Linked DNA regions of Homo sapiens: all the other regions are linked to region 6. The links are contacts of gene promoters, found by promoter capture Hi-C in human tissues and cell types (Jung and others, 2019). All regions are on one chromosome and are shown on one strand. The core of a region is centred on a gene start or on the middle of the fragment in contact, and the rest is flanking DNA. Distances in the headings are between cores, read along the strand shown.

Region 1 (3,822 bases), core at 1,207-3,706, 510 kb before region 6:
GTACCAGCTCCTGTTTGTACTTCTGGCAGAATTCATCTGTGAATCCTTCTGGTCCTGGGCTTTTTTTGTTTGGTAGGCTATTAATCACTGCCTCAATTTCAGAACTTGTTATTGGTCTATTCAGGGATTTGTCTTCTTCCTGGTTTAGTAGTGGGAAGGTGTATGTTTCCAGGAATTTATCAATGTCTTCTAGATTTTTCTGGTTTATTTGCATAGAGGTGTTTATGGTATTCTCTGATGGTAGTTTGTATTTCTGTGGGATCAGTGGTGATATCCCCTGTATCATTTTTTATTGTGTCTATTTGATTCTTCTCTCTTTTCTTCTTTATTAGTCTGGCTAGCAGTCTATCTATTTTGTTAATCTTTTCAAAAAACCAGCTGATGGATTCATTGATTTTTTTGAAGGATTTTTTGTGTCTCTATCCCCTTCAGTTCCACTCTGATCTTAGTTATTTCTTGTCTTCTGTCAGCTTTTGAATTTGTTTGCTCTTGCTTCTCTAGTTCTTTTAATTGTGATGTTAGGGTGTCAATTTCAGATCTTTCCCACTTTCTCCTGTGGGCATTTAGTTTTATAAATTTCCCTCTAAACACTGCTTTAGCTGTGTCCCAGAGATTCTGGTATGTTGTGTCTTTGTTCTCATTGGTTTCAAAGAACTTACTTATTTCTGCCTTAATTTTGTTATTTACCCAGTATTCATTCAGGAGCAGGTTGTTCAGTTTCCACGTAGTTGTGCAGTTTTGAATGAGTTTTTTAATCCCGAGTTCTAATTTGATTGCAGCTGCCTCTTTTTATATGCCCTTTGAACTAAGAATAGTTTTCTTTTGTCCACTTTTAATGGCTGAAAAGTTGTAAATGGTTAAAAAAGAATATTTTATAATGCAAAAATTGTATAAGATTTACATTGTATGTATTGGTTATTTACAACAAATAAACATCCCCAGGGACAAATAGCCCAATTTTCAAACCAAAGAATCAATCAGTGATTTATTTCCAATATACAGAACCCAGATGCTTGGGAAAATCTCAGTCTTCATAAGCGATCTGAGTATTCATCCACACATCAAGAACTAATGAATAAATACGTCCTGTAATTATAAATGAATCAAGTATAAGTGCTGTAGTGACTTATAAAAGAAACTCACTTTAGGGGTTTACCTTTTTTTGTCATTGTGCTTCTTTTTTTCAATCTGCTGTTTCCATCAACTGTAATGGGAATTACATCACCCTTCGGGATGGCCTCCTGCTGCAGTGACTGGAAATCATGGCTGTGGCATTTAGTCTGACAATGGAACAAATGTTTGCAGCTGGTACTCGCCAAATAAATCCAGGGCATCTGAGCACTTGATTCAGAGCCCCTCCAGTTCTACAGTCTTTCCAATTGAATTATCTAGCTCTATCTGTGTATAGCTACAAGAAATGAGTAGAGTGAGAGTTTATTTTGTGTCCCATCCAGAAGTTTATTCTAGAAACAGATTATATTTTGAGTCAACTATGAAGTGGCTACTCGCTAAGATAAGCTTTCTATTTGCTGACAATGATTGGCTGCCTCAAGCTGCCTTGAGCTCCCAGTCACTGGAAACTTTTTTTTTTTTTTTTAAGGCTGGATATAACCATTTATCGCAGTCCCTGCAGATGGGATTTTTACCCTGGGCGGCAGATTACCTCTAAATTCTGATAACCTTTAAGGTCCCCTCTGATTCAAAATCTATTATTCTTAGATAAGGCCCAGGAGCATTTTTCTGAGACTGCCCCAGAAAAAAATTTAATAACTCCAGGCACACAATGACTCTTGTTCATCATTTACCTGTTACTGCCACCTGCCTCCCTTGCTTTCCATTAAGTTTGCAAAGAGTAGAAGATCTGGCTTCTGGGCTGCAATTTAATACGTGTGCAAAAGTAATATCAGAATCCTGCCATTAATAGGGCTGTACTCCAAGGAACAGGGCATGCTTTATTAGTTCCTCATCAATTAAGCAAGGGAAACCTTCAGGCTTCAAAACGAACTGTGTCTCAGTGGCGACAGAGAGAGATGATTTTGTCTACAAGACGGAAATCCACAGGGGACAATGAATGCCTCTGTTCCACATGGGGAAAGGGTGGGGGTCATATCCGCCCTCAGCAGCTATTTTCAGTGACAGAGAAAAATCCCCTCCTGAGGGAGGGCGTGACAAACAAGGTGACTGGGGGCTTTCTCAAACTCCACATTGTTCCATACCAAGATTCCAAGATACCAAGGTACTCTGTAGGAACACACATGGGGAATCCCAAACAAAGGAAACTTTTTCCTATGACAATATTTTTTCTTTAAAAAAAGTCATGGGCTGGGCATAGTGGCTCACTCCTATAATCCCAGCACTTTGGGAGGCCAAAGCAGTCGGATCACTTGAGGTCAGGAGTTTGAGACCAGCCTAGCCAATATGGTGAAACCCCGTCTCTAATAAAAATACAAAAATTAGCCAGGCATGGTGGTGGGCACCTATAATCCAGCTACTCGGGAGGCTGAGGCAGGAGAATTGCTTGAACCCAGGAGGCAGAGGTTGCCATGAGCTGAGATCGTACCACTGCACTCCAGCCTGGGTGACAGAGCAAGATTCCCTCTTAAAGAAAAAAAAAAGTCATGGATAGTAGTGACATCTATGTCTCAACATACCAGTGCAGAAAGAGTTCAGAACTTCAAGGTATACCAGGTGGGGCACACAGGGATGGAAGGAGATGATGGCTATCAGGTGTTATTATGGGACATAGTGAGAGGCAAGGACTGTAAAGTGGTAATGCTAGAAAATTAGGCTGATGCCCAGTCATGGAGGCCCTTGTGTGCCCAGTTACATGCTCCTGCAGGTGTTAAAGAGCCAGTAAAGGATTATATAAAGGGAAGTGATGTAGACGCAGCTCTGTCCACCACATACTGAGGGGACAGACTGGGATGCTCCACAGGCTTCGGAAGCCAAGGAAACAAGCTTTAATTGGAGATATTAGTTTGGGCATCATTAGGGTATAAGTAGATGATAAAGTCTGAGTGTTTGTCTCCTCCAAATCTCATGTTGAAATGTGATCCCCAGTGTTGGAGGTGGGGCCTAGTGGTGGCTGTTCAGGTCATGGGTGCGGATCCCTCATGAATGGCTTGGTGGGGTCCTCAAGATAATGAGTGGGTTCTTGTTCTGTGAGTCCCCGTGAGAACTGACTGTTGGGAGAAACCTGGCACCTCCTCCTGCTGCTCCCATCTCTCTTGCTCCCTTTCCTACCCTGTGACATGCCTACTCCCCCTTCTCCTTCCAACAAGATTGGAAGCTTTTTGAAGCCTCACCAGAAGCAGATGCTGATGCCACACTTCTTGCACAGCCTGCAGAACCATAACGCAAATCAACGTCTTTTATTATTTTTTAAAATGTATCTATTTTTGATGGACATTTAGGTTGGTTCCAAGTGTTTGCAATTGTGAATAGTGCCACAATAAACATACGTGTGCATGTGTCTTTATAGCAGCATGATTTACATCCTTTGAGTATATACCCAGTAATGGGATGGCTGGGTCAAATGGTATTTCTAGTTCTAGATCCTTGAGGAATCGCCACACTGTCTTCCACAATGGTTGAACCAGTTTACAGTCCCACCAACATTGTAAAAGTATTTCTATTTCTCCACATCCTCTCCAGCACCTGCTATTTCCTGACTTTTTAATGATTGCCATTCTAACTGGTGTGAGATGGTATCTCATTGTGGTTTTGATTTGCATTTCTCTGATGGCCAGTGATGATGAGCATTTTTTCATGTGTCTATTGGCTGCATAAATGTCTTCTTTTGAGAAGTGTCTGTTCATGTCC
Region 2 (3,588 bases), core at 640-3,139, 480 kb before region 6:
CTCAAGCCACTACAGGAACTCATGAAAGAATAACCCTGCTCCAAGGAAGGAGAAAACAACAGCTAATTTCACTGCCTGTAATATCCTGGCTAATCAGAGATACAGAGTCTGTCCACATGACAACTTCACTGCTAGCATAAGCAGCATTCGAGAAAACCAGTGCACTAAACAAACCTACAACCAAGGATTCTCAGAGTCCCCTTCACTCCCCTGCTACCTTCACTGGAGCAGGTGCTTATATCCACAGCTGAGAGACCTGAAGACAGATCATATAACAGGACTATTTGCAGACACTACCCAGTATCAGCCCAGAGCCCGGTAGCTCTGCTGGGTGACAAGGCTCAGAAGAGCAGTAGCAATCACTGTAGTCTGGCTCTCAGGAAGCCCCATCCATAGGGGAAGGGGGAAAGCACCATATCAAGGGAGCACCCCTTGGGACAAAAGAATCTGAATTGCAGCCCTTGATTCCCAGATCTTCCCTCTGACATAGCCTACCCAAATGAGAAGGAACCAGAAAAGCAATTCTAGTAATACAACAAAACAAGGCTCTTTAACACCCCCAAAATATCACATGAGTTCACCAGCAATGGATCTAAACCAAGAAGAAATATCTGAATTGCCAGGAAAAGAATTCAGAAGGTTGATTGATTATTAAGCTACTCAAGGAGGTACCAGAGAAAGGTGCAAACCAACCTAAAAAATTAAAAACATAATGCATGATATGCACAAAAACATTTCCAGAGAAGTAGATATCATAAATAAAAAACAATGAAACCTTCTGGAAATGAAAGACACACTTAGGGAAATGCAAAATAGGATTGAACAAGTAGAAGAAAGAACTTTACAGCTCAAAGACAAAGCTTTAGAATTATCCCAATCCAACAAAGATAAAGAAAAAAAGAATTTAAAGAAATTAACAAAGCCTCCAAAAAGTTTGGGATTATGTTTAATGACCAAACCTAAGAACAATTTCTGTTCCGTGGAAGAAGAGAAATCTAAACGTTTGGAAAACTTATTTGAGAGAATCATCAAGGAAAACTTCCCTGGCCTTGTGAGTGATCTAGACATCTGAACACAAGAAGTTCAAAAAACACCTAGGAAATTCATTGCAAAAATATCATGACCTAGGCACATAGTCATCAGGTTGTCTAAAGTGAAGACAAAGGAAAGAATCTGAAGAGCTATGAAGCAAAAGCATTAGATAACCTACAAAGGAAAATCTATCAGATTAACAGCAGATTTGTCAGCAGAAACCCTATAAGCTAGAAGGGATTGGGGTCCTATCTTTTGCCCTCTTAAACAAAGCAATTATCAGCCAAGAATTTTGTATCCAGTGAAACTAAGCTTCATAAATGAAGGAAAGATAAAGCTTTTTTCAGACAAACAAATGCTGAGAGAATTTGCCACTCCCAAGCCAGCATTATGAGAACTGCTATAAGGAGTTGGAAATCTTGAGACAAAACCTCAAAATACATGAAAACAAAACCTCCTTGAAGCATAAATCTCACAGGACCTATAAAACAATAATACAATTTTTAAAAACAGGTATTCAGGAAACAACTGGAATGATGAATAGAATAGTGGCTCACATAGTCTATACTAACGTTGAATGTAAATAGCCTAAATCCTTCACCTCCACTTAAAAGATGTAGAATTGCAGAATGAATAAGAATTCACCAACCAAGTATCTGCTGTCTTCAAGAGACTCACCTAACACATAAGGACTCACATAAACTTAAAGTAAAGGGGTGGAAAAAGATATTTCATGCAAATGGACACCAAAAGTGAGCAGAAGTGGCTATTTTTATATCAGACAAAACAGACTTTAAAGCAGCAACAGTTAAAAAAAAAAAGGGACATTATCTAATGATAAAAAGACTAGTCCAACAGGAAAATATCACAATCCTATATATGCACCTAACACTGGAGCTCCAAAATTTATAAAAACAATTACTACTAACGTAAGAAATTAAATAGATGGCACCACAATAATAGTGGGGAACTTTAATACTCCACTGACAGCACTAGACAGGCCATCAAGACAGAAGGTCAACAAAGAAACAATGGACTTAAACTATATCCTAGAACAAATGGACTTAACAGATATTCACAGAACATGCTACTCAACAATTGCAGAATGTACATTCTATTCATCAGCACATGGAACATTTTCCAAGATAGACCACATGATAGGCCACAAAACAAGCCTCAATAAATTCAAGAAAATCAAAATTATATCAAGTACTCTTTCAGACCACAGTGGAATAAAGTTAGAAACCAACTCCAACCCTCAAAGTCATGCAAATACGTGGAAATTAACTAATCTGCTCTGAATGATCTTTGGGTCAACAATGAAATCAAGACGGAAGTTAAAAAAGTACTTGAACTCAACGATAATAGTGACACAACTTATCAAAACCTCTGGGATATAGTAAAAGCAGTGCTAAGAGGAAAGTTCATAGCATTAAATGCCTACATCAAAAAGTTTTAAGAGCACAAACAGACAATCTAAGGAATCTCAAAGAACTAGAGAAACAAGAACAAACCAACCCAAACCCACCAGAAGAAAAGAAATAACAAAGATCAGAGCAAAATTAAATGAAATTGAAACAAAAAAATACAAAAGATAAATGAAACAAAAAGCTGGTTCTTTGAAAAGATAAACAAAATTGATAGACCATTAGTGAGATAAACCAAAAAAAGGAGAGAGAAGATCCAAGTAAGCTCAATTAGAAATGAAATGGGAAATATTACAATTCATGCCACAGAAACGCAAAATATCATTCAAGGCTACTGTGAACACCTTTATGCACACAAACTAGAAAACCTAGAGGAGATGGATAAATTCCTGTAAATATACAACCCTCCTAGATTAAACCAGGAAGAAACAGAAAGTCTCAACAGACCAATAACAAGCAGTGAGATAGAAGTGGTCATTTAAAAAAATTACCAACAAATAAAGTTCAGGACCAGGTGGATTCACAGCTGAATTCTATCAGACATTCAAAGAAGAATTGGTACCAATCCTACTGAAACTACACCAAAAGATGGAGAAAGACGAGATCCTCTCTAAATCACTCTATGAAGCCAGTATCATCTTAATGCCAACACCAGGAAAGAACATAACAAAAAAAGAAAACTACAGACCAATATCCCTGATGAACATAGATCCAAAAATCCTCAACAAAATACTAGCTAACCAAATCTAGCAGCATATCAAAAAGGTAATCCACCATGATCATGTGGATTTCATACCAGAGATTCAGGATGGTTTAACATGGGCAAGTCAATAAATGTGATACACTACAGAAACAGAATTAAAAACAAAAATATAATCATCTCCATAGATGCAGAAAAAGTGTTTGACAAAATCCAGCATCCCTTTATGATTAAAACCCTCAGCAAAATCGGTGTAGAAGGGATATACCTTAACGTAATAAAAGCCATCTATGACAAATCCACAGCCAACATTACACTGAATGGAGAAAAGTTGAAAGCATACTACCTGAGAACTGGAACAAGACAAGGATGCCCACTTCCAACACTTCCATTCAACATAGTACTGGAAGTCCTAGCCAGAGCAATCAG
Region 3 (3,867 bases), core at 387-2,886, 350 kb before region 6:
AATTCTGCCATTTGTTGTTTCTGCTGACTCTTGCTCCCGGTGGCTTATTCCTTTGTGTGGCGTGTGATTTTGGATTATGAACTCATGTTTTCTAAGGTCCCTGAGGCACTACCACTTAAATAACCACTTTAAGTTAATTGCATAGCTTGAAGTTTCCTGTACAATGCAGTTAGTACAAATCCAAACCTCAAGCATGTGTGAGGGTAAGTGTCTTGGTCTGTCTGTGCTGCAACAACAAATACCTGAGACTGGGTGATGTATAATGAATAGATGATTATTCCTCACAGTTCTGGAGGCTGGAAAGTCTAAGATCCAGGTGCCAGCTGGTTTGATTGTCTGGTGAGGCTGCATCCTCCAGAAGGCTGGCACACTGTCCTCACGCGGCAGAAGAGCTGGAGGACTAGCCAACCAAATGTGGCATGAAGCTTTATTTTAAACAGGCTTAATCCCATTCACAAGGGAGGAGCCTGCATGGTCTAATTATCTAATCACCTCTCAAAGGTTCCATCTCTTAATAATATCACATTGACAACATTTGAATTTTGGAGGGGACACATTCAAACCATAGCAGTAGGCCTAACTATAGTAACAAATTCAAATTTCTTTTTTTCACCAGAGTCGCACTTCATAAAGCAAGTATCCCTATCTGTCTTCCCTTGCCAGGGGCCTCATTCATCTAGTCCACACTGCCCCAGGAATCCTGTTTTACACATGTGAGGGTTGTCTCAGTTCAATCTTCTCACCTTGTGTGGGCCCCAAAACAGAAGATCCACAGAAGGCATTAAAACCCAAGACCCTAGATCAGAGATCAGCAAAGCATAACTCATGGGCCAAACTGAGCTCACAGCTAGGCAAGTCTTCCCACGCCCTTTTGCTTATGTATTGTCTGTGGCTGCGTTTATGCCACAGAGGCAGAGATGAGTAGTTTGAACAGAGACCATCTGGGCTCGTAAAGCCAAAAATATTTACTATCTGGCCCTGTACAGAAAATGATTTCCAACCCTTGCTCTGGACAACCAGGACCACCAAAAGCACTAGCAACTCTCTTTGTTTTTAGCCCTTGGGAAATACTCTCACCTTTTTGCAAACTCAGTGATGCATTTCAAAGGAATTTTGTATCCTGCGAGTTTAGCCATATTGAGTGGGGAGTTTTTCTAGGACATCTAGTCCACCACATGGCCAGAAAGCAAAGCCAGCCTCTTCTTTCTTTTACCTCTCAAAATTCTAATCACCTTTTGAGGTCTAAAACAGAAATTCTCTCCTTCAGAAAGCCTTCCCCAATGATTTTGGCTTATTGTACCATGTGACTACATGTACTTTAAATGTCCTTATCATCTCTAATCTATGGTCTAGTAATTCATCATAGGAGTGTGTGTGTGTGTGTGTGTGTGTGTGTGTGTGTGTGTGTAACTGCTCTCCAGTTGCATTGAGCAGGTAATTATTCTCTTTCGTATAGTTGTCAGAATCTTAAGAACAATGTTGATCATTGAGATCAATACCTAGTATTATGGGATTTGAGAGTTGACACAATCCTGAGATGTTATGGAGCTCTACATCTGGTAGTTTAGAAAAGAAACCTTGGCCTCATCATGGCAATGGAGAATGTAGCAAGGGGAAGTAGCAAGTGTTCAGGCCTTGGGTTTACACAGAACTGGGTTCAAATCCCAGTTCTAGCTAATTGCATACTAGCCATATGACCTTAGGTAATTAACCCTTCTGAGTTAAGGTTGCTTCATCTATAAAAATATAAAGTAAAGAATGTCATACCTACCTTGGACAATCGAGAGACTTAGAAAGAACATATATGCACAGTTTATGGCATAAGGAGGCAATTAGTAAGCTACTATCATGTTATGGAAATGACTTGTTTGTTAATGATCTTGAGACCACACTTGAAGGTTTTGACTGTTCCAATACTCCATGCATCCAAGCTGGAATTCGATCTGTTATGTGTATCCAAGTTTGTGAAACCTGGACAAGAAGCCTAGGAAATACAGAAAGGAACTGGCAAGGATGCATGCCTAGACCTTACCAGAGAGCAGATTTCCAGCATTTTAGGTCTGGCCGCAGAAATTCTGCAGGGCTAGAACAGGTCAAATGGCCTAACCAATCTAATCAACAGAAAAGTGTATTACAATGTTAATAGCTATCAAAAATGGCTGGTTGACTGCAACTGCCATAGATAATGCATCTTGGTGCTGTCTTTGGCTTTGGCTTCCTTGATAACTCTGTCAGTATCTTATCCCACCATGCCCAGCAGGCCTGAGCTTCACCAGCTAGTCTTGTTCTTTAAGGGAAAACAAATTGTTTGGTTTGCTTTCCCCTTGTTTCTGGCATTTGTAACAGAAGGAACTGAAGAGGGAGATGGGGTGGCCTGAAGTTGCACCACCTCCCTCCAGGCTGACTTAGACCTATGTCTTTGGTGCTCATTCAGGGGTGCTAGAAGCCTCATTCAGGTGCCCTGAACAATGGGTTGGACATGGGATAGCAAGAGAAGCCACAGATGTATTTATGACCCTAGCCACAGAAGAGGCAATGGGAGTTTATTGGTGAGAAGGCCAGCTCATCTAGGCCTTGACTCCTTTAGTAGCACTGGGCTAGTACTTGCTGACATGACCTCTTTAAGCCCTTGCCTGGTGGCCTGCACACTTCCTAGGTCGCTGCACTGCCTCTTTTCTTTTTCCCCCATAGGACATCTGAACATGCCTGCTTTATGCAGCATTCTCCTGCAGGCAAAGGGGTTCCCATTCCCATCCTCACTCTGCCCAAACACATGTGCCCACACCCTGTCTCCACTTTCCAACATTTTATTGATCCATCACTTTTTTTTAAGACAATGTCTCACTCTGGCTCAGGCTAGAGTGCAGTGGTGTGATCACAGCTCACTGCAGCCTCAAATTCCTGGGCCCAAGCCATCCTTCCACTTCAGCCTCCCAAGTAGCTAGGACTACAGATGGGCACCACCACACCTCACTAATTTTCTTAAACTTATTTTTGTAGAGATGAGGTCTTGTTATTTTGCCCAGGCTAGTCTAGAACTCCTGATGTTAAGTGATCCTTCTGCCTCAGCCTCCCAAAGTGCTGGGATTATAGGCATGAGCCAGGCCTCCATCACTTCTGACTTACTCAATGATGGATTTTGAAATTTACTTGTTTGTGTTACTCACAGCACCAAAGGCTGTGTTCAGTGTTTCTTGACTATTTCAATTCTTATTCATTAGGATGCTCTGCATCTGAAGACAGAAGACTCAGTAATAGTAAACCTTTAATTTGCACAGCATTCTTTTTCAATATATGATTTTATACTTTTTAAGTAAACAAAGCATCTAAACTAGGTCAATACTATGTTGCACTAAGTTATTCAAAATGACCTATAAAAAACAATAAATTGATGAAAAAATGTGCAATTCAGATTTCCCTAACATACAAATAGCACTGCAAAATTAAAAGACCAAATTCCAACAGAAAAATGGGAAAGGACATAAACAAGACAGCTCACAGAAATGAAATTAAAAATGGATTACAACATCGGGCAGTGTACTCAACCTTATTCATAATAAGAGAAAAGCTAACTTAAAATTCTATTATCTACAGTTTTTCACCTTTAAGATAGGTAGAGATTAATTAGTGCAACCTCTCTAGAGTGTGATTTGGCAATATTCATACAAAATGCAACGGTACACACCTTTGACCCAGCAATCCTACTTGCAAGAAATTGCCAAACAAATGCATTCTCACATATATGTGGATAATATACATACAAGGTTGTTAACGGTAGCATTATTTATCATAGCAAGGTTTGGGGAAACACCTAAATGTTTATTAATAGAGGACACTGCTTAAACAAGTCATGGGACATCCATACAA
Region 4 (3,570 bases), core at 606-3,105, 420 kb before region 6:
TTGGGTCACCCCACAGGTAAAAAACCACACCAGCTGAGGTGCTTGCTAAGGGTGAAGGGGATATAGCATGATTAGTAGAAGAGGTAGTTGTAACTACAAGCCATGACCTCATGACCGGCTATAGAAATATGGTTATAGAAACCCACAACAGAAATGAATATTTCTTCCTTATTTGTTGTGAATACCTGTGTGTACATATCTCTGTATCTATAGCAAGTATCTTTACTTTCCTCCCACTCTTATCCTTCTATCATGTAACATAAGATGTGTTGACCTTATATGATAGTATTTAAGCATTGTTAACATTACATCATAGTTTTTAAGTTACAGAATATCAAGGAGAAGGGTAAACATCACCCAAGAACTTTGCAACTTCTTCTGGGACAAGAATTAGTGTTTTTGATTTTATGTAGGATAGTTGTATCATGTTAGGCAGAATGATGACCTTGTGACTGTTTTACTTTACTTTTTAAAAAGTGTTGGATTCTCACTCTGTCATCCAGGCTGAAGTGCAGTGGCACAATCACAGCTCACTGTAGCCTGGAATTCCTGGTTCAAGGGTTTAAGTGATCCTTTTGCCCTCCTGAGTAGCTGGGACTACAGGTGTGTGCCACCATGCCTTGCTAATCAAACGCCTCCTGGGTTCAAGCAATTCTCCTGCCTCAGCCTCCCAAGTAGCTGAGACTACAGGTGCATACCACCATGCCGTGCTAATTATTGTATTTTTAGTAGAGACGGGGTTTCACCATATTGGCTAGGCTGGTATTGAACTCCTGACCTCATGATCTGCTTGCCTCGGCCTCCCAAAGTGCTGGGATTATAGGCGCCAGCCACTGCACCCAACCCCTGCACACTTTTAAATGACCACATCTCCAGAGAACTCACTGTTGTTAGGACAGGACCAAGTGGGATGGGGCTAAACCATTCATGAGAAACCACTCCCATGACCCAGTCACCTCCCACCCGGTCCCACCTCCAACACTGGGGATTACAATTCAGGATGAGATTTGGGAGCAGACACAGATCCAAACTATATCAGGACCATAATATCCTGAGACATTAAAAATATGGGCTGATTTGGGAAAGAGGAAAGCTAGCTCTGATTTTGAGGAGCGTGAGAGGGAAGGGAGAGTTATTAGGATCACGGTTCAGAGAACAGTCCCACATCAGCCCAATATTTAAGCAAGGACCCCTAGAAGCTGCATTTCTTCAGAAACAAGAAGGAGCAAGTAACTGGCCCGAGTGTTGAATTTCTTCCTCACAGCTGAGAAGCCTTCAGTTTTGTGGGTTTTGGGACGTGGTCAGTCTACTTCTCCACGTTCAGAAATTGTAACAACAGTGCACAACCTGTGGGTGTGTGATGATGCTAGGAGACGCGGCCTCCCTCACCCCTGGCAGAGAGTTGCTCAGGTAAAGTGCGAGTGATTGAGTTAAGCATATAAACCTGAGGTCGGATGCGGTGGCTCATGCCTGTAATCTCAGCACTTTGGGAGGCTGAGGTGCGAGGATCGCTTGAGCCTAGGAGTTTGAGACCAGCCTCAGCAACATAATGAGACCCCATGTCTACAAAAAATACAAAAATTAGCCCGGTGTGGTGGTGTATGCCTGTAGTCCTAGCTACTCGGGAGGCTGAGGTGGGAGGACCACTTGAGCCTGGGAGGTTGAGGCTGCAGTGAGCCATGATCACAGCACTGCACTCCTGCCTGCGTGACAGAGCAAGACCCTGTCTTAAAAAGAAAGAAAGAAAAAAAGCATATAAACCTGATGCTTAGTTTACTTTTACAAATACAGTTTATTTCCATTATAAAATGAACATATAATAAAAGTTAGAAAATACAGAACATTCAGAAGAAGAAATGAATGCTCATATCATCTTACCATGTAAAGATATTTATTAACTTTTTAATGTGATTTTCATTCTATGTGCAGCTTTCTGTTCTTTTTGTACCGAACATTATATGATGGTCATTTTTATATATTTTTACTAAAAACCATTCATAATCATTACTTGTGCTTGTTTCAAATTAGCCATTGAGTGACTAAGCTATTATGACAATGATTTCTATATTCCTGGGACTTTTAGATTGTTTCTAATTGCTTACTAACAAAAATAAGTGACCATCTTAACTCAGAAAAGTTTTTTCAGTTCCCAAGAACAGATTCACTGGGTCAAAGCAAACGACACTTGACATATAAATTATAAAATGCTTTTCCAAATCGTCTCACCGCACTTCAGTCTTATGTTGTAAGTTGTAAGTGCATGGGAGAAGCACAAGGGGCGCTGTTGAGGTAGCACTATAAGTAAAGGAAATGGAGTCCCCTCTAGGAGTTAAGCTGCAAAGCCAGCAAGCACACCTAAAGCACAAGCGCAGGAAGTGAGTCCGTGCTGGCTTGGCAAAGAGGCTGTACACTGGGGAAAATAAAGTTGCATCTCCTGCTCATCCATACACAAAGGTAAACTGCAGGTGGATTGAAGGCCTAAGAGCGAAAAGCAAAACCAGTGTGGTAAGAGAACTGTGCAATGGATGAGAGACGTCTTATCTCTAAGACGTCAGGAAGCTAAGGATTTCCTAAATAAGCCCCTCGAAAGCATAAAGCACAAAAGCGGGAAACAGTAGATTTAAGTCTATTAAAAGTAAGGATTTCTGTTCATTAAAAACACAATAGATGAAATTGACAAATTGGTGGCAAATCTGGAAGACATTCACAATTTTAAAAATCAACAAGGGATCACGTCTATTATAGAATACGCAAGGAACTTTTAGCAATCAACTGAGAAAAGACGGAAGCCCATAGAATGTGAGCAAGAGGTAGGAATTAGCAATTGACAGAAAGGAAAGCCTAGGTGGCTAACAGGTATACATGGTGTTCAATTTCACTGGCATTCACAAGTGTGCAAATTAAAGCCACTTACCACCTTCCCCTCATCAGAGCGGAGAAAGTGGGCAGTTAAACAATCCTCTCAAGCGCACTGGTGGGTGTGGAACGAGGACCCCATTCTGAGACAGGATCCTACAGTCCTTCATGATGTCAGGAACGCATCTGGCTACGGGTAGAACGCCCTCTCCTGGGGTGTGCTCCTGAGAAAGCTTTCCGAGGCCCACAGGGGATAAAGCATACACACCCAAGCAGGCGTGTTAAACACGTCAGAGCAGATGAATGTGGGGAAAGAAGATGGAAATTGGGATGAGGAAAGAGGGGGAATATTAATGAAACTACAGTCAGAGAGGAGTTCTGCAAGGCTGGTTATAGCACGCCATGAGCTGAGGCGTGTAATTAACTAGACACTCTCCATCTGACGTCCAATTTAATTAATTAATTAATCAATTAATTAGTTACTTACCTGGACTCTGCCTCACGAGTTAGATCATCCCTTGGCACTGATAAAAGGCAAGTCTGAGCTGACAAGGCAAAGCTGCTTTCTACCAGGCTGGCCTTGGATGATGCCATTATGCACCATGAGTGCAAATCGTTTCTACAGGTACTCTTGGTTTTAAAAATGTTTGTTACTCTGATAAGTAGAAATGTACAATTAAATTTTAAGAGGTATACAAAGATTTTAACATGACA
Region 5 (3,726 bases), core at 569-3,068, 450 kb after region 6:
ATATAAGGAATATAAATTTCATTTTGAAATAGTATAAATTTGACACTTTTAGTATAGGTTTAATGCATCAACGTTCAAAAAAACCTCTTGAGTAGCTACCTTAACTGATGTCAGCAGTACTAACTCCCATCACATTCTGGGTGCCCTTTTAAAGTTAAAGCACAAACTTTAAAACACTGTCCTTTTAAAGCACAAACTCTATTTACCCAGATGATAATCATCTGGGTAAATATGAAAACGTATGATAATTATCTACTAAATGATGGAACTTCCTCAAGTTGGCAAAAAACTAGTGAAGAGAGTATTTGGGACTTATGAAGATCATTATCCTTTGCATTTGAAGATGACACTGCTGTTGGGCTCATTTGCTCTCTTTATAAGTATGGCTGAAAAGACCAATTGGTGACAGTTCTCAAGTCAACTGCACATATGGGCCATCTGTTATTAACTTAACACAAGAAGAAAAAAGTCAAGGACTCACTGTTGACAACATTCTCAAACTGGAAGAAAAAAGTACAATCTAAAGGTACTATGTGACTTTAATGCCCCCTAGTGCATGATGCATGCACCTCTCTAATACAGCATTCGGTACTTAAACTTTATAATTCATAAAGAAAATGACAGAGCCTATTAAAGCAAACGCTCACACCACTGTCAAAAATTCAATATTGGTTCTCCATATACTTGATACACTTGCTCTAACAATTTCTATTTCAAAAGCTTTCTAGTAGATTCTTCTAATAAACCGTCTCCAGTACAAATGGTTAATTCAAAAATGTCTTTCATTAGGATTTGCTCTGAGATTCTTTCCTAGTTTAATCTAAACGGATTGCATATTTTCTTAGATAAACATGCTCAGATCAGGAACTTATCTACAGGTTGATAAAGACATGAAGAGTCTTGAATGCTTAAAGAGTAATTAGTTGATCATCACTATGGTAAAAGACCAATCAATAAAGCATACAAAGGGGACTCTGACAATTACAAGGACTTTCTCTCCTGCACTGGACAATCAACCACGAATGAGAGCAGTGAATACACTCTCCCTCACCAAGGAGACATTCAGGGAGGAAACCAAGGTCAGGGAATTCTCTTGTAGTAGATGAGACACTACACCTCTGGCCCTTGTGGTCCAAAAGAGTTCATTCTCATTCTACTTTCTTCAAGCCCTTTCTACTTCCTTCACAGGGTTAGTATCTCTAAATTCAAGGCTCAGCAATAAGACTATTTTAAGCTTTAATTTATTGGACAGTTAATCAAATTCTTCTCCTCTGACTTGAATGATTTGCCACATTATTAAGTCCTCTCCACAGATGTTTTCTACTTTGAAAATTAGGGAACTTAGCCTGATACATAAGCAGCCTGGAGCTGTGGTTCTGTCTCTCCCTTTTTAAGTGCAATCCATGACTTACAACTATATTTGTCAAGATCTGAAGTAGAAAAGTCAATGACCTCATCACATCTGCAAATATTTTGGTCTTTTTTTTATGCTTAGATCAACAGCATTTCACCCAGTTCTATTCTTTCCAGTTTCCTTCCTGGAATAAGCAGGCATCATAACATTCACCATATGATTTCTTTAGTAATTTGTGAAATGTAAAGTAATCCTCAAGGTTACACCCCAAGTTTCTCTAGGCAGATTCTTTGTGGTTCTACAAAAAAGCAGCTTCCTTTTGCCTAAGAGTTCCTACTGTCCCATTCTGCAACTTTATTTCCATCCTCTAAATTCCTGCCACAGTTATCACCTCAGTATCATCTACATGTTTTTTCAATGTGTTCTTATATTCTATAACCAATTGTTAATAATCAAATATAAATCCATTATAGATAATTAGTGTTATCCCGAATAATACATGTACAGAATACTATTTGTTTCTAAGTCTGTTCTAAACTCTTACCTGTGGGCCAATCTGAAGTGCTTGATTTCCTGTTGCCCCTCTTTCTGATTCGATATTGCTCAGAGTAGTCCACCACTTCCCCCCGAGCTTTCCGCCCATCAGGGGAAGGGGTAAAAAATTTGGTAAGGCCATCAATGAGCCCTTTGGTTTTCTTGTTGAACTTCAAGGAGACATTGCTATCTCTGCAGAAGTCCAAGCCATCTATCCGCTCTAAATATCCTTCTTCTGATGATGATGATGCTGATTGGCTGGAAAGAGTGATTTTTCGTTTCCTACCCCTTCCAGGGCCAGTTCGAACTTTGCTGAAGGGACCTTTTGATCTAAACAATTAAACAGGGGAAAGGGTAAGTATTAAAAAAGATACTTGTAAGGTTCCTTTTTAATACATAACATATAATTAGTAAGTAACCTACAGCTTTATTAAAATCTATATTATTAAGAATATTCTGCAAACTATAAATAGTACTCTGTGAATGAAAATTAATATTATTATTAGAAACATCTATTGCCAGGAAGCCTACTTATAGTGCAAAGAATGACAGGCCAGGAGTCAGAAGACTTGTTCTAGTCATAATTCTCTCTTACTAGCTGTACGACTTGGACAAATCACATTTTTTCTAAACATATGTCAGTGCCTTCATCTGTAAAATGAGAACTGGACTAAGAACAACTAAGATCCTTCCAGGTATAAAGTTCTACTACACTGTGATCTCTGCACCAACTGAAAGTTATACTTTTATCTCTAAAACACAAGGATGGGTTATTCTTCGAAGGCCAGGAATCAAAAGATCATTTTATAGGAAAATCAAAGCTTGATTTAAGATTTTGAATATAGACTACAATATTGGTTCTGTACATTTCAGGCTGCTAATGCCCATTCATTTCAGTTATATCACCTTCAAGATAGTCTTACGTGTAAAAAAAGTAAGTAAAACTTTTGATAATAAAGGGAGGTTGACAAGCCTGAAGACGTTTACATATCATCAAAGGTGAGTTACTACAGACATTTTTAAAAAGACAAAACTAGCTACTGAATCTTGCCCCACCTCCTCCAGACATAGCCCAGCTTTCTAGTCCACAATTTCTGATTTCTGCTAATAGATGAAAACATTCAAATTATTTTACATCCAAAGAACACAAAAATGGGACTTAGCCATCACCTCAATAGGAAGAACCTATCCAGTGATTTGTACACCTAATAGATATTAACAACTGAGACAAGATCAGGAGAGTGACATGTGAAATGTCACAGTAACAACTTTTTCTTTCCTGTTTTTATATAAGAGAAGCAACATAAAGCAATGGTTAAGAGTCAGACTTTGGTGCCAGACTACTCGGATTTTCATCCCAGTTCAACATTTACTATGCCTTAGTTTCTTCCTTTGAAAAATGAAAGTAACAGCAGCAGCTATATTTCACTGGGTTGTTGGCAGAATTAAACAATTCAATGCATATAAAGCACTTAGAATAGTGTCTGGCACTTATTAAGGGCTGAATAAGTGTTAGCCATTATTATTATATAAAAGTGCCAGATATGACAATGGAATTTTTTTCATAGAGAAAACAAGTGAATCCTACACTATAGAGAAGACCCTATCCTTTTCTCCCCTCACCTTGCCACAAGTACAACTTACACCGTGTTTTGTTTCTTTAACCTGTTTTTTGGACGTCCTATTGGATTAGTATAGCGCCGTTTTATCTGTGCTGCCTTCTTTTGTAGAAGTTTTCGTCCTTTTTTCCTAGGTCGACATATTTGACATATCCACATGCCTATAAAAAAATAAAATTCCACATAGAAGTGTGACAGACATAAATACACTGAAAGGTT
Region 6 (3,787 bases), core at 43-2,542:
CCCCAAAGCAGTGATTCTCTTTTCTTTTTTCTTTTTTTTTCTTTTTTTTGAGATGGAGTCTGGCTCTGTCTCCCAGGCTGGAGTGCAGTGACGCCATCTTGGCTCACTGCAGGCTCCGCCTCCCGGGTTCACGCCATTCTCCCGCCTCAGCCTCCCGAGTAGCTGGGACTACAGGCGCCCGCCACCACGCCCGGCTAATTTTTTTGTATTTTTAGTAGAGACGGGGTTTCACCATGTTAGCCAGGATGGTCTCGATCTCCTGACCTCGTGATCCGCCCACCTCGGCCTCCCAAAGTGCTGGGATTACAGGCGTGAGCCACCGCGCCCGGCCCCAAAGCAGTGATTCTCAAACCTCAGCTGTGTCAGGGTCACCGGGAGGGCCTGGGTCTGGTGAAATACCCCCAGTTTCTGATTCGGTGGGCCAGGGTGGGGCCTGAGAACCTGCATTTTCACGGATTCCCAGGCGATGCTTCTGCTGGTCGTCCGATCCCAGGCTTCAAGAACCAGTACCCACTTTGTGAGGCCGAGGTGGGAGGATTGCTTGGATCCTTGAGTTCGAGACCAGCCTGGCCATCATAGGGAGAACCTCCCCACCCCCAACCCCGCCACAGTTCTTTTTTTTTTTTTTTTTAATTAAAAAATAACTGGGCGTGGTGGCGCTGGCCTGTGGTCCCAGCTACTCCGGAGGCTGAGGTGGGAGGATCGCTGGAGCCCGGGAGGCGGAGGTTGCAGTGAGCTGTGGTGGTGCCACTGCACTCCAGCCTGGGCACCAGAACGAGACCCTGTCTCAAGAAAGATGAAAAGGAATATACTGGAGATTCTGAAGGCAATGACCACACTGACCACAGGTGAAACCCCGCAAAGACGGAGGAACCCAAAGAGCCACGAGAGCTGTGGGTGGAGACGGCCCAGGAGGCTGCAGCGGCCTGCTTTCAACAGCATACTTCTGGGTGGGACCCCCCGGGGCGGACACCGCCGCTCCCCTTGGCCGCGGTGGCGGGCGCCCCCTCCCGACGCTCTTGGGTAGTGCAACCCGGACCGCACAGCGGAGCGGCCGGCCCCCAGGTGGGCGGGGCCAACCCGGACCAGCCTCCCGCCGCCTCAAGTCCTTGGGTTGCTGGGACTGCAGGCCGCCGCGAAGACAGTCCCCGCCCGCCGGGTGGGCGGGCCCAAGGAGACCGCCCCGCTCTTCCCCCCGGGCCTTGATTGGTCAGCGTCGCCCTTGCGCGATGACGTCGTGCCTGGGCGGAAACTTTGCGAGAGTAGCGCGGGAGCTGAGAAGTTGCAGGGTTGAGTTGGTCCCGGCAAGTCCTTGAGCAGTTTGTTCCTCTGTCTTCCCGCTTCCTGGTGCCCCGACTGCGTCCCCACGAACGCCCCGTCCTTACCGCCGGCTGCTGTGGAGTGCCTCGCTGTCTCCCAGGTCCCCGAGTGAGCGTCGAATGGGACCTCTGTGGCTAGGGCAGGCCTGTGTGGGTGGCACTGAGAGGGAGGAGGGGAGGGGGATGTTCGCAGTTTCCTTGCGACCCCAGGGACTTTCTTTGTCCCCGCCATCCACCTCCTTAGGCCTTTGGGATCGCCGACTGGTCTAATGTCGCCGGCCCTTGTGGCTCTGGGAAATTAGCATTGATTAATCTTCCTAACAATTTTTGTTTTTATAGAGACAGGATCTCCCTATGTTGCCCAGGCTGGTCTCGAACTCCTGGGCTCAAGGTATCTTCCTGCCTCGGCTTCCCAAAGTGCTGGGATTACAGGCGTGAGCCCGGCCAGCTCCTAATAATGTTAAGTGCTTGCTAGGAGTCAAGCGCTGTGCTGAGCGCAGGGGCTTCCCACGTCATTGCGTCCCCAGTGCTTAGTGCCAGGCACTGAGCAGAGGCGCGATTCGTATTTGAACTAAAACGAACCCCGTCCCTGAGGAACAAGACCTCTACTGGGAAGTCAAAGAAATGAATAGTGATTGTATGGTGTGATGGGTGCTCAGCTCTTGGTGGACAGAAGTAAGGGGGAGGCTTGTTTGAGAAACGGATACCTGACCTAAGCCTTGGAGGAAGAGGCAGACACTGGAAAACTAGAGTCCCTGCGTTCTCTCACCACTTGCTAAAGGGCCTCTACAACCCCAGGAAACCTCAATAAACCTTTCCTTTCTCCAGATAGATGTCTGTTCTTGCAGATAATTAGAAAACGCATTGCAGAGTATTGGTTCTTTCCCTCTCATTAGGTTCCTGGTTTCAGAGAAGATGACCGAAGAAGTGGATTTCCTGGGACAGGACTCTGATGGGGGTAGTGAGGAAGTGGTCCTAACTCCTGCAGAGCTCATTGAAAGATTGGAGCAGGTAAGCATCCCAGATCGAATCCCTTTGCTCCAGTCAGCCTTTTTATTTAGTTCAACTGTGAATATCAGGGATCACAAGATGAGGAAACGGAATTTGGGGCTTACTTTAGAACAGGGACTGGATCTTACCATCTACATGGAAACGGGAAGCAAGAAGGACATCCTCTGTTAGAGACCTCATCATATCAAACACAGCATCCCCAAGTGGGGTCAGTAAGGGACAGCTTTGGGCACATTCAGTGAACAGTTCACAGAGCAAGGATCCACGTGATATTTTCAGGGACTGTAGAGGTCCCTGAACTTCTTTACCTTAGTCCCTTGAACATCTGCTGTTTCCCTGGAGAATGCCTGTTTAGCAAGAAAATGCTGAAATGCCTGTAAGGGAAAACTGGTCATATTTTTCCTTTTTCTCACATGTTTTTTCTTGAGTCGTCTGCTCTCCATATGTCCACTGCTTATCTAAAATCCTTTCTGAAATATTTCTCCTTTAAGTTGTAATAGCTATGACTTACTGCATATTTCCCATGTGCCAGTAACTGTGTTCTTTACACTTATATCTCATGATGCTCTGGTAACAGGAGTTCAGACTATCTGGATTTAAATCTGTCTGTGACACTCCTCTGTTATGTGATCTTGAGCAAGTTAGGGAGTTTGTCTCAAGCCGTTGCTTGCCTATAAAATTGAGACAATAGGGCCGGGCACGGTGGCTCAAGCCTGTAATGCCAGCACTTTGGGAGGCTGAGGTGGGCGGATCACCTGAGGTCCAGGAGTTCGAGACCAGCCTTACCAACATGGTAAAATCCCGTCTCTACTAAAAAACAAAAATTAGCCGGATGTGGTGGCGCATGCCTGTAATCCCAGCTACTCGGGAGGCTAAGGCCGGAGGATCACCTGAACCTGGGAGGCAGAGGTTGTGGTGAGCCAAGATCCTACCCACCATTGCACTCCAGCCTGGGCAACAAGAGTGAAACTCCGTCTCAAAAAAATAATAAAATAAAATTGAGATGATAATAGTGTCTATGTCCTGGAGTTTTTGATTAAATGTGGTAATTGTGTAAAGCACTCAGCATGCTATCTGACACATGATAAGCACTCACTAGATGTGAGCTGTTCATAGTAAGTATCCTTATCCTCTTGCTCTAACTGCCCCTTTCCAGAGCTCTCTCATGTTTGCTACTTTAGTATTCTTCATTCTTCCCTGCCATACATGATATCACGAATGACAAAACGGAACTAAAATGATTTTTAAATTATACCTTACATGATAATCCTTACTATTTAGCAGTGATTCTTAATCTGTTTTTATATCACAGACCTTTTTGAGAAACTGGTAGAAACTGTGGTCTTTCATCCCACAATAACGCACACATGCACCCATGCAGAATTTTGCATATGACTTCCAGGGGATCAGAGATCCCCTGAAATCCACCCACAGACCTAGTTTGTGGAACAGCATTA
Region 7 (3,583 bases), core at 962-3,461, 320 kb after region 6:
ATCTAGCACTGACAACAAATGACCCCAAAATCTCAGTGGCTTAACACTAGGAGTTCACCTCTTGCTCATATCAGTCTAATGTGAACCAGCTGGCTTTCCAGGCGGCTGTTGTCCAAGTGGACACTTAGGGATGACACCTTCAGCTCTAAGGTTTACCTGGGGAGGTGAAAGCGAGGAAGACGGTGCAGGTGGATTTATGGCCGGGCCTGAAATAACACACATCTTGTCTGCACACATTTCACTGGCCAGAATCAGTCACATGATTGCTGACTGCAAAGGAGGCCGGGGAAAACGGTCTTCACAGGGGACCAGGAGAGGAAAACGCAGGTAAGCATCCACGAGCTGCTACGGAGGTGATAATGACACTGACTTTTATTGATGGAATTCTGTAAGCCAAGTATTGTGACAGGAGCTATATAAGCATCACCTCATTCAATCCCCAAGACAGCTCGTGAAAGATTACTCATCTTCATTTTACACATGCAGAGATTCAGAGATCCAGCAACCTGACTCTAAGTTCCTGCTCTAACGTAGGAATATAGTCTTCTTGTGCAAAATTAAGACATTACAGAGCGGCATTCTTGGCCACCGTGCCTTTTATCCCAGATTCCCCACATACGCACCCAAATTCACCAGAGCTGGCAGTGTGATGTGTGTCCTGAATCTGTTTGTATGTGCATTTAAAATGCATGTACTCATATGATTATCTGATAGATTTATCATTTTCTTTAAAAAATAGAACTGTGGGCCAGGCGCAGTGGCTCACACCTATAATCCCAGCACTTTGGGAGGCCGAGGCGGGCAGATCACTTGAGAGGCAGATCACTTGAGGTCAGGAGTTTGAGACCAGCCTGGCCAACATGGTAAAACTCTGTTTCTACTCAAAATACAAAACTTAGCCGGGTGTGATGGTGTGCACCTGTAATCTCAGCTACTTGGGAGGCTGAGGCACAAGAATCACTTGAACCTGGAAGGTGGAGGTTGCAGTGAGCTGAGATCATGCCACTGCACTCCAGCCTGGGGGAATACAGTGAGACTCAATTTCAAAAATAAATAAATAAATAAATAAATAAATAAATAAATAAATAAAACTGTGCAATATACATTATTATGCAACAAATATCTAGCACATTCCTCTGCATAAAACACCCAGTGATTTTTTTCTATCAGATCACACAGCTTCCCAACTTTCCACCGTAGAGTAAGTAATCCCTTTGGACTCTAGAAGGTTCTTGGCTAAAATGCGAAGACCTCACAGGGGAAGTGGGAAGCGTGAAGCATTAACAGTCACTCACGCCTGCGTGCAGCACCATTGGTCCCTGCAGAGCCGAGCCCAGGGAGACCAGGCCCAGGACTGACGTTGCTGATGCCCTTCCCCAGTGGCCAGCCCTGGGCCCCTGGCCTGGTTTGGGGGTGCTGTCGTCTGTGCCCTGAGACCCTGTCTCTCATCAAATTGCCCAGAACACTGGGAGTTGGGGGATAAATGGATCTTCTCCTTCCACCTTGAAGGTGAAGAAAAATATCTCACCCTTTTTGAAAGAGAGACCAGACTACATCAACTTGAAAATAGCCCCAGGTCTGGACAGCTGAATTTACTGCTCTTAAGGTGATCTCATGCAATCCTTATATAACTGTGCAGACAGCCTGGTATTGGTATCCGCATTTTACAACTGGATACATCAAGTCCAAGCAGGGAGTAGGTGGCCCCAGGCTGCACTGCAAAGCCCATTCCCCACTGCAGGGAACGTTGCTTCAGGGGCCCTGGGCCAGACCCAGTCTCCAGGCCTGTGACCATTGCCCCTGGTGCGACCTGCCCCCATCCACCTGGAGCTTGACCTGCCTCTGTCCACCTGGAGCATTATTGATTGAAGTTTCCACCCTCCAGGGCCAGACAGGGCACCAGGGACTGGAATCAAACCCAAAGAGAATTCAAAAATGACTAAACTGTGTGAACTTGGAACCAAGCTTCAACATTATTTTAGGGACCTTTGAACCACATTTGGAGGGGCTCACTTCATATCCTCTGCCCATCTTCGAAGGCCTAACGGAAACCTTCTGGGTGAGGCTGCCCTGATGTCTGCACTGGAAGGGACCTGTGCTCTTCTGAACTCACACTTACTGTCTGTACAAGTAATAGGCCAGTTTATCAACCTCATCCCATGGCAGCTCTTCTTTGGCCTTGGCCTTTGGCCTTGGGCTGTGGTGAAACCCCGTCTCTACTAAAAATACAAAAATTAGCCGGGCATGGTGGCAAGTGCCTATAATCCCAGCTACCAGGGAGGCTGAAGTAGAAGAATTGCTTGAACCCGGGAGGCAGAGACTGCAGTGAGCTGAGATCACACCATTGTACTCCAGCCTGGGAGAGAGAGCGAGACAATGTCCCAAAAAAAAAAATGTAGTCATTTATCAGGAGTTCCTGTCCTATTTCCCCAAATAGAGGGTAACCCCCTTGAAGGCAAAGGCAGGATCCTGAGCATGACAATGATCCCCTCGGATCCCACCGCCGCGCAGGGAAGGTGCCCACCACACACTCAGGGCTTTCCATCACTTCAGTGTTTTCATTCTTTAATAGTTAATGCTCTGTTATTTCACCTAACAGGACGATGTCTTTTCTACGTGATCTCTCAGCTCCTTTCGTCAGCACGTCACTCACAATTTTCTCTCTTCCTCTTAACTCTTTTTCACCAACCACGCTGAAGTTTGAGAAAACTTATTCCAGCACCATCTTCATCTTCCCCATTATCTATGGAGCACCTGCGATTGGCCAGGCACCATGCTACAAGCAGACAGTATCACCACAGGGATCCCCACAAACCTTTATGGCCTTCCTCTGATCACGCTGTCAGAGCCCTGGCAGCGGCTCTCAGACAGTCCCTCACTGCAGCCTCCCCACAGCCCTGCGACCGCTCCCACACATGAGATCCTCACCCTCCTGCCGGCACCAGGCTCAGCACGCTTCGTGAAGTCACTCGCTTCACCCTTTATAAGATAAGTAGAGTTTTTCCATTTTGCAGATGAAGAAACTGAGGCTTGGTGGGGGTCCCGGCAACTTCCTTTCGCTCTCGTTACAGTGCAGCCGTCGTTTAGCCCATGGGCTAAAAGTTCCGCCTGAATGCCTAATAACTGTTGAAACTAAATAATGCTTAAGTGGGGCTAACGGTGACAACTCTTCACCTGAGTATAGTTGACATTTTTCATAATAAAAATTTAAAATCAAAAGTTGTTTCTTCCAGAAAGAAAAAAAAAATGACCAAAACAGTAGCAGGTCTAACTAACTCACTGGCATATTATGAGCACCTGGCAGATGTTCAATAAATAGTCATTTTTAATCTGTACTTATGAATTTATTTACCTTTTAGAGACAGAATCTTGCTTTGTCACCCAAGCTGGAATGCAGTGGTGCAATCATAGCTCACTGCAACCTCAGCCTCCTGGGACCAAGTGATCCTCCCGCCTTAGCCTCCCGAGTAGCTGGGACTACAGGTATGAGCCACCACACCCAGATAATTTTTTATATTTTTGCAGAGATGGGAATCTCACTATGTTGCCCAGGCTGGTCTCAAACTCCTGGGCTCAAGCCATC

Evidence for each region. The method cuts DNA at HindIII sites, captures the fragments that hold promoters and counts their contacts. A contact is called where the count stands out against the background at its distance.
Region 1: a fragment that was not itself captured here is called in contact with the fragment with the promoter of GINS4 in region 6 in 2 of the 25 tissues and cell types used here (lymphoblastoid cells and stomach).
Region 2: a fragment that was not itself captured here is called in contact with the fragment with the promoter of GINS4 in region 6 in 2 of the 25 tissues and cell types used here (heart right ventricle and mesenchymal stem cells).
Region 3: a contact is called between a fragment that was not itself captured here and the fragment with the promoter of GINS4 in region 6, in 4 of the 25 tissues and cell types used here (bladder, mesenchymal stem cells, mesendoderm cells and 1 more).
Region 4: a fragment that was not itself captured here is called in contact with the fragment with the promoter of GINS4 in region 6 in 2 of the 25 tissues and cell types used here (H1 embryonic stem cells and IMR-90 fibroblasts).
Region 5: a contact is called between a fragment that was not itself captured here and the fragment with the promoter of GINS4 in region 6, in 1 of the 25 tissues and cell types used here (mesenchymal stem cells).
Region 7: a fragment that was not itself captured here is called in contact with the fragment with the promoter of GINS4 in region 6 in 2 of the 25 tissues and cell types used here (adrenal gland and mesenchymal stem cells).

The regions. Positions count from the first base shown.
Region 1 is chr8:41,020,870-41,024,691 of GRCh38, forward strand. No RefSeq gene overlaps it. Among named protein-coding and RNA genes, the nearest start is that of ZMAT4, 120 kb to the left of the region's middle. The HindIII fragment of the contact is 3,598 bases long and covers 658-3,822 here.
Region 2 is chr8:41,049,549-41,053,136 of GRCh38, forward strand. No RefSeq gene overlaps it. Among named protein-coding and RNA genes, the nearest start is that of ZMAT4, 150 kb to the left of the region's middle. The HindIII fragment of the contact is 3,878 bases long and covers 1-3,588 here.
Region 3 is chr8:41,177,726-41,181,592 of GRCh38, forward strand. The region is part of intron 2 of LOC105379771 (a long non-coding RNA gene); the gene reads right to left. Among named protein-coding and RNA genes, the nearest start is that of MIR548AO, 91 kb to the right of the region's middle. The HindIII fragment of the contact is 9,170 bases long and covers 1-3,867 here.
Region 4 is chr8:41,102,950-41,106,519 of GRCh38, forward strand. No RefSeq gene overlaps it. Among named protein-coding and RNA genes, the nearest start is that of MIR548AO, 170 kb to the right of the region's middle. The HindIII fragment of the contact is 7,626 bases long and covers 1-3,570 here.
Region 5 is chr8:41,975,110-41,978,835 of GRCh38, forward strand. KAT6A (lysine acetyltransferase 6A) reads right to left here. Exons shown (of 17, transcript NM_006766.5): 6 at 3,533-3,668; 7 at 1,899-2,218. Among named protein-coding and RNA genes, the nearest start is that of KAT6A-AS1, 75 kb to the right of the region's middle. The HindIII fragment of the contact is 4,974 bases long and covers 1-3,726 here.
Region 6 is chr8:41,527,969-41,531,755 of GRCh38, forward strand. It overlaps GINS4 (GINS complex subunit 4), which reads left to right and starts at 1,293. Exons shown (of 8, transcript NM_032336.3): 1 at 1,293-1,428; 2 at 2,216-2,330. The coding sequence starts at 2,235. RefSeq lists a silencer at 839-1,268. The HindIII fragment of the contact is 17,762 bases long and covers 1-3,787 here.
Region 7 is chr8:41,847,141-41,850,723 of GRCh38, forward strand. It overlaps a transcript of ANK1 not described here. Among named protein-coding and RNA genes, the nearest start is that of ANK1, 51 kb to the left of the region's middle. The HindIII fragment of the contact is 3,387 bases long and covers 519-3,583 here.